2 separate regions of the Homo sapiens genome follow, and region 1 is linked to region 2. The links are contacts of gene promoters, found by promoter capture Hi-C in human tissues and cell types (Jung and others, 2019). All regions are on one chromosome and are shown on one strand. The core of a region is centred on a gene start or on the middle of the fragment in contact, and the rest is flanking DNA. Distances in the headings are between cores, read along the strand shown.

Region 1 (3,383 bases), core at 187-2,686, 210 kb before region 2:
TTTAGGGGAGTGAACAGTTGTGTTGCGGTGTTCCAGGCACACTGTGGTATGAAAAAAACCTCCTGCAGCTAGCTCGGTGTCTGCCCAAATGGCCACCCAGTTTTGTGCTTAAAATCCAGGGTCCTGGTTGTATAGGCACCCAAGGGAATCTCCTGGTCTGTGGGTTGTGAAGATAGTGGAAAAACGTAGTATGTGGGCTGGAGAGCACCATCCCTAATGCCACAGTCCCTCATGACTTCCTTTGTTTAGGAGGGGTAATGCCCTGACCCCTTGCGCTTCCCGGGTGAGGTGATGCCTCATCCTGCTTCTGCTTGTCCTCCATGGGCTGCACCCACTGTCTAACCATTCCCAGTGAGATGAACTGGGTACCTCAGTTGAAAATGCAGAAATCACCCATCATCTGTTTAGGTCTTGCTGGGAGCTGCACATTGGAGCTGTTCCTATTTGGCCATCTTGGCCTGGAATTGAAAATAGAGATTTCAAAGTCACCTTCTCTGGTAACAATCAAATAACAGTAAAATAATAAGAAAACGATTCTTCTTACTGCTGCTCTCACCTCTCTCAAAATTTGACTATTTGAAAATCAAGACTTGGCTACTCTGTCTATTGAGTAGCCATTCTTTTATTCCTTTACTTTCCTAATAAATTTGCTTTCACTTTGTGGACTCACCCTGAATTCTTTCTTGTGTGAGATCTGAGAACCCTCTCTTGGGGTTCTCAGGGCCCAGAACAGAAAGGGATCAGGACCCCTTTCCTGTAACATCTTTCTGGTGACCACTGAAGAGACTATAGTATGGAAACCCCTAGCTTTTGGTAAGTGGTGAGGTCCAGTAACATGTTTCTTCTGGTGAAACATGGAAGGGACGATACTGAGGAGACTCCAATCCAAAGGAAATAGACTGCAGAACTGATCGGGGCTGACTTTTTCTAGGTAAGACCTGGCACACGTGAAGTTAGATGCTGGAAAGAATCAGACCTTATCTGCACTTCTGTCTGCTGTCCTAGGCTCTACACCTAGCACATAATTAAAATCCCAAACTTATTAAGGTTTTCACCAAAAGTAAAAGTCACTAAGAGTCAACACTGTAATATGAAATTGAGACTACTTAAGAAACAGTTTTATATGTGAGTCAAGAAAACTTTTCTTTTGAGCTATTTACAGCTTTTAACAATTGAGTAACGTATACTCCTGTGAACAAAATTTGGACCATATTTGTTTCTCTCTACCTGATTTCTCCAAAATTTGAAAACTATTTGTGAGTATTCTTAACATATGGCAACATAGTTATTTGCATAAGTGCAATAAGAATCTGTTTTCTTTTGTAACAGGACACAATTGGAAAAACTGGTTATTTTACCAAGACTTTGACTGGAATGCTATGCTGTGCTTTAAGGAATCAAACTTGACTTTTAAAGCCAATAAAAGCCCCTTGGGGAACTGGCCTCATACTTTACCTATGCAGTCCCTGTAGAGGGTTTATGACCTGTGATAAGTAAAGAATGTCACTTTCTCACAGACCCAGGAGCCCCAAGTTATCTTGGGACCCCAAGAGGAGAGGAATTCACTCAACTCATAGGTATTTGAGGGTACAAACCCATGGTAGGCTTGGCTTAAAAAAAAGTCTTATCTGAGATTTCTTCTATGGAACAGAGTTCCATCAAAGCCAATTTAAAAAGAATCTATGTGAAAAATAATTATTCTTCCTGCACTTTATACAAATAATCAGGCCAAGCATAATAATGCAAATCAGTCTTACCATGATTTGTCTTTAGTAAAAATGGGAAACAAGAGAGAAATATGTTACAAGAACTATGGTACACTTGTTACTAAATTTTAGTCTCATAAGTTATTTTTAAGTTTGTTTCTGCAATTTAGGCTAACCCTACTTATTCCTGTGAACCAACCACTGATCTCTTGACTGCTGCTCAGAAGAAACAAGAGGGATTGGGTAATGTAAAAATCTGGATCAATATTCTAATTTTGGGTACATTGGAATCAGCTAGCGACCCCATATCAGCTTGGTTCCACAGTTGCCCAGTTCATAGAACTGGAATTAGTTCTATGTAAATTAGTTTACTTGGAATAATTTTACTTATTGTGTTTTACTGTTGTTGTGGAATAAGTTGCTGCTGTGCTCTTTGTGTAGGAAGGCAGGACAAGCTTACTGAATATTTTCTTAAATTCAACATGTATTAATCTTCCAGGTATCACCTTTTGTTGGAACTCAAGAGTTATGAATGGCCCTTACCATACTGATGCTTTCTGACTGAGCTCCTCTCTACCCCAAATACAAGAGACACTCACAGTTAGGCAGGAATATCATTATCCCTATTTAGCCTGAAGAAGTTACAGAAGATGGATCTTTATCCCTCTGCAACCCTTAGGATTAAGGGTTCTCTTATGAAAGGGAGGGGGGAAATGTCAGAGACGTTTGAACCAGAGCAACTTCATCTTGAATAGGAGCTGGGTAAAATGAGGCTAACACCTACTGGGCTATATTCCCAGATGGTTAAGGCATTCTAAGTCACAGGATGAGATAGGAGGTCAGTACAAGATACAGGTCACAAAGACCTTGCTGATAAAACAGATTGCAGTAAAGAAGATGGCCAAAACCCACAAAAACCAAGATGGCGACAAGCGTGAACTCTGGTCGTCCTCACTGCTACACTCCCACCAGCACCGTGACAGTTTACAAATGCCATGACAATGTCCAGAAGTTAACCTATATGGTCTAAAAAAGGGATGCATGAATAATCCACCCCTTGTTTAGCATATCATCAAGAAATAAACATAAAAATGGGGAACCAGCAACCCTTGGGGTTGCTCTGTCTTTGGAGTAGCCATTCTTTTATTCCTTCACTTTCCTAATAAACTTGCTTTCACTTGAAAAAAAAAAAAAAGAGAAAATCAAGACTTTTCTAGATAACTTTTGAATTGAAGAGGAAATTGAAATTACAAATGATCCAGAAGACAGAAAATGAAAACACATTGTACCTTTATTATTAAAGAAGACAGATAAAACAAGGATTTTAGCTTCATCTTAAGAAATTAGAAAAAAAAGTAACAAAGCAACTTACAGAGAGCTGAAATTAATAAAATGGAACTCTCTCCAAATGTGGAAGTTAAATGAGATGATTTCTTTAAAAAATCAATAAAAGAGAGAATAAATTCCTTGCAAGAAAGCCTGATTAATGTTGGTGGTGAGAGAAAAGAGGGTGAGAGAATGAGAATGAGAGAGAGAGAGACTGAGAATATATATTAGATTATGATACAAATGTGAGGGCACAACTACTGGCCCATGAGAAATCATAATTTAAGTCACTAAAATTGACTAAAGAAGTTGAAAACTCGACTAGACCAATTAATTACCATGAAATAAGTT
Region 2 (3,559 bases), core at 70-2,569:
AGACACGGCCCCTCCCCCGGCACTCAGTCCTGCCTGCCTTACACAGGAGTACAGGAAAGGAACTTCCAATGAGTCCATCTTTTATGTTAGGAGAGAGGCAAGGTGCTGAGTTTCCCATCCGGGGAGTTCAGCTGCACCCTCTCCCCAGCCCCCACCTCCCTGACTTCCCCTCCTCCCTACTACCCCTAACCAGTGGCCCATCATTCCTTTCCCAGTCAGTCTTGGCTGTGATGTTAAGCGGCTCTGCCGGACCCCATATTTTGTCTGGTCTCTAAAAGGGCACTGACCTGAGGGTACAAATGCAGAGGCCCCGGGGCAGCTAGGCAGCCGCGAGCAACCCAGCACCCAGCTGCCTAGGGTGCTCCAGGCAGCGGCGGCAGCAGCTAGAAGCTGGTGTCATTATTACACAAGCCAGGCAAATCCTGCTCCAGTACACAGAGCGCATCTAACCAGCAGGAAGGAAATAAGCCAAAATCCTCCCGACACCACACACACACACACACACACACACACACACACACACACACACACGAGTCTGAGGACAAGGACAAACACTTTGCAGAAAGAACCCTCCCCCCACCCCACCGACGTCCAAGTCCCTGTTTCAGGATTCCTCACCCCCCAGTAGCTTCTAAAATCCTCGTGTTTGACCACCTCTCCCAACACATGGGACAGAGAGAATTTGGCTAACTTCAAATCCTGTCTCCTGAGCACTTGCCCACAAATAGTAGGGGGAGTGATGGGGACGCCCCCCTGTTCCCTCCACCACCCTCACTTCTGCCCCCCACGCCACTCTCAGGTTGACAGCGTCGGGGAAAGACATCAGACCATCAATCCAGCTTTTCCTGCCAGCTGGGGAAACAACACTCGGTCACTAACAGCACCCAATCACCTAGAGAGCGAGAGTGAGCCGAGGCAAACACGCCGGGTTCCAGACACCGTCCCAGCCCCCGAGACCCGGGTTTGCAAAGGGCTGCACACGTTCGCCGGAGGGTCGCTGCCGCCTCCGAGAAAGGACTTGAACCTGAGCCCGGTGAAGGTAAAATGACACAGAGACTCACCTTTAGGTTGTGTGTGGGGTTGACGACACAGACAAGTTGCCCGGCAGCGGAGAAAACCCGTTTAGCCTTGTAGTGCTGAAACCGGAGATGAATGAGATCTAATACAGCCCCAAAGCACTGGGTAAAGAAAAGCATCACAACTTTTGGGGGGTTGTTGGTCCGGGAAGGCAGCGGAGGAAGCTGTGAGTCCTTGGGCCCTGGAAGGAGCGCAGCCTCTGAGACACTCCGCTCCAGCCCGGCTTAGCGCGCCTTCATATTCATCATCAAAATAAGACGGTTAGAATCTTGCAGCAGTGAGGCGGCCAATCAAAAGGACAGAAATGTTATCCTTGAGGTGCAGAGACAGCCAATAACAAATGCCTTCCCTACCGAAACTCCCTGATGAATTGAGCCTGGCGGAGAATGTATTATTGAACATTACCATAGATCAGCACATTGCATTTATCTTGTGATTACAGCCAACCATACCTAATGCTGGGGAGATAGGCTGACAAAATTGATTGCTTAATGTGTCTCCATTTATTAATTGACTTAATTTAACATGAGAGCCTTTCTTAATGCCCTGGCAAGAACGTAAAGCGTTTAAGCCGCCAAATAGTACAACACCCCGCTCCAAAGTAGGCAGATGGATAACGCAGATCATGGCTCGACTCACCAGAGCTGCTTGGGAGAAAATAAAATATTACTAGACTCTGAATCCAGATAAGGACTTGGCAGCAGCAAAAATGTGTATCTTTCAATCTTGCGTTCTGACTTTCTGCAATTTGGATTACAGCCCCTTGATAAATCTTACTCTCCACTCTTTATCAAAGAAAAGAATCCCTGACAAATTCATTTGGAGTTGAGGGGTGGAGGGAAGCACATACATATATATTACTATACATATATATATATTTTCTTTTTTTCAAAATACTGTGATTACTGAAGTCTGAAAGTATTAAAGGATAAAAATGCACAGAGTATGCTTCAAAAAATAATGAAATCCCTGATGCATGAATGCACACACACAGAAAAACCTACACTGAGAGGAAAGAGGCTTGTAAATCAGCAAAATAATTACAGATGCAGAGAACCTTTGCTTGTCATTCATTTGCATATTGGTGGGCAGCAAATTGCTAATTAACCACTAGATTGCTGGAGACATTAAAATAGAGATTAAGGATGCACATACCACATCATTTACTTGTTTCTGCAAATGCTAGCAGCACATTTCTGTGCTGGCACAGGCAGAGGGCATTCCAGTCCTCAGACTGCAAACCTGTCCTTGCTCCCCAGAACAGGGCTGGTGGGTGGGCGGGAGGCCGCTGGTTCTTGAAGAAAGATTCCTAAGCAGTACTTGAAGGGTTTTGGGTTTTTCGGGACTAGCTCTGATGGTTTAGTCTTTGCAGCTAAAGCAGGGGAGTTCAGTGTATTGTGTTTTCCCTCTTCCCTGGTTGTTTCTCTCTTGAGAAGTCAGGCCAGATCCAGTGCTGCCTGGAGCAGGATCAGCCCCCACTGTGAATTGTACCCTGTGAGTGTGAGCCCCCTCCCTCATGGCTCTTGTTCTGCTCTGGCTACAATGCTTGGGTTGTAATGTATGCAAAACATATGCACACGTGGAACACCTAGGTCTGTGACCTGGTCAGGCAGTTAAACTAACAACAGAATAACATACGGGATAAAAATAATGCACAAGTTTATTGATGCCAGGACAGAGCCCAGGCTGTTCATTTTAACTTGCATTTAAAACCAAACCAATGTTTTAAGAGACAAGCTGAACACCAATTAAACATGGAAACTTTGCACTTTTAAAATAACGACACTGGCACCAAACTAGAAGATGACAACATTTGAACTGATTAGAACCTCATCAATGTGATATTTTTATAGGACCTGAGTCCCTGGAGCCACTTGTTACATGGCATATAATAAAGGTTGCTGGCCCACAAAACCAGAATCTGCTTTCTAAAGTTTGAATTGTCCAGAAAATAAGCTTTCAGCAGTTCATTGGGAAAACATTTAATGTCCTTTCATTGGCTTACTTGTTTTAAAAACTAAAAGTGTGCAGATACTCTCATAGATTCCTTAAAGATATATTCATAATTTAGAAAGGTTCAAATTATTTTTACATCTTTGGCTCTAGTGGAACGATTGTGTTGATTTTTTGTTCTGTTTTGTTTCATTTTTCTTTACTTTTTAAAGATGTATTGTTTCCGTCATCCTGCTAGAAGTAAGTTCCATGAGAATGGGGATTTCTGCTGTTTTTTTTTTTTTTTTGGAAAGGTATTTTTAAAATAAAATGATTGTACACAAAATAAGGATGCCAGCAAATAGGTCAAAGATCTATAACTTTGTGTTGATAATCTCATGCTTGTGCTTAAGATATAAAAATCAATGCTCCTTTAATTTTATCTTGATTTTTAAGAAATTAAAGACCTAATGTTTTTAGAGTAGTTTTAGGTTCACAGCAAAATTGAGAGGAAAGTACAGAAATACCTCATTTTGCCCCTACCCCCACA

What was found. Contacts are between HindIII fragments. The study calls those that stand out against the background at their distance.
Region 1: a fragment that was not itself captured here is called in contact with the fragment with the promoter of SIAH3 in region 2 in 2 of the 25 tissues and cell types used here (mesenchymal stem cells and mesendoderm cells).

Annotation. Positions count from the first base shown.
Region 1 is chr13:45,641,174-45,644,556 of GRCh38, forward strand. No RefSeq gene overlaps it. Among named protein-coding and RNA genes, the nearest start is that of ERICH6B, 27 kb to the left of the region's middle. The HindIII fragment of the contact is 3,633 bases long and covers 1-3,253 here.
Region 2 is chr13:45,850,434-45,853,992 of GRCh38, forward strand. It overlaps SIAH3 (siah E3 ubiquitin protein ligase family member 3), which reads right to left and starts at 1,320. Exons shown (of 2, transcript NM_198849.3): 1 at 1,062-1,320. The coding sequence starts at 1,196. RefSeq lists an enhancer at 1-429. The HindIII fragment of the contact is 6,525 bases long and covers 1-3,559 here.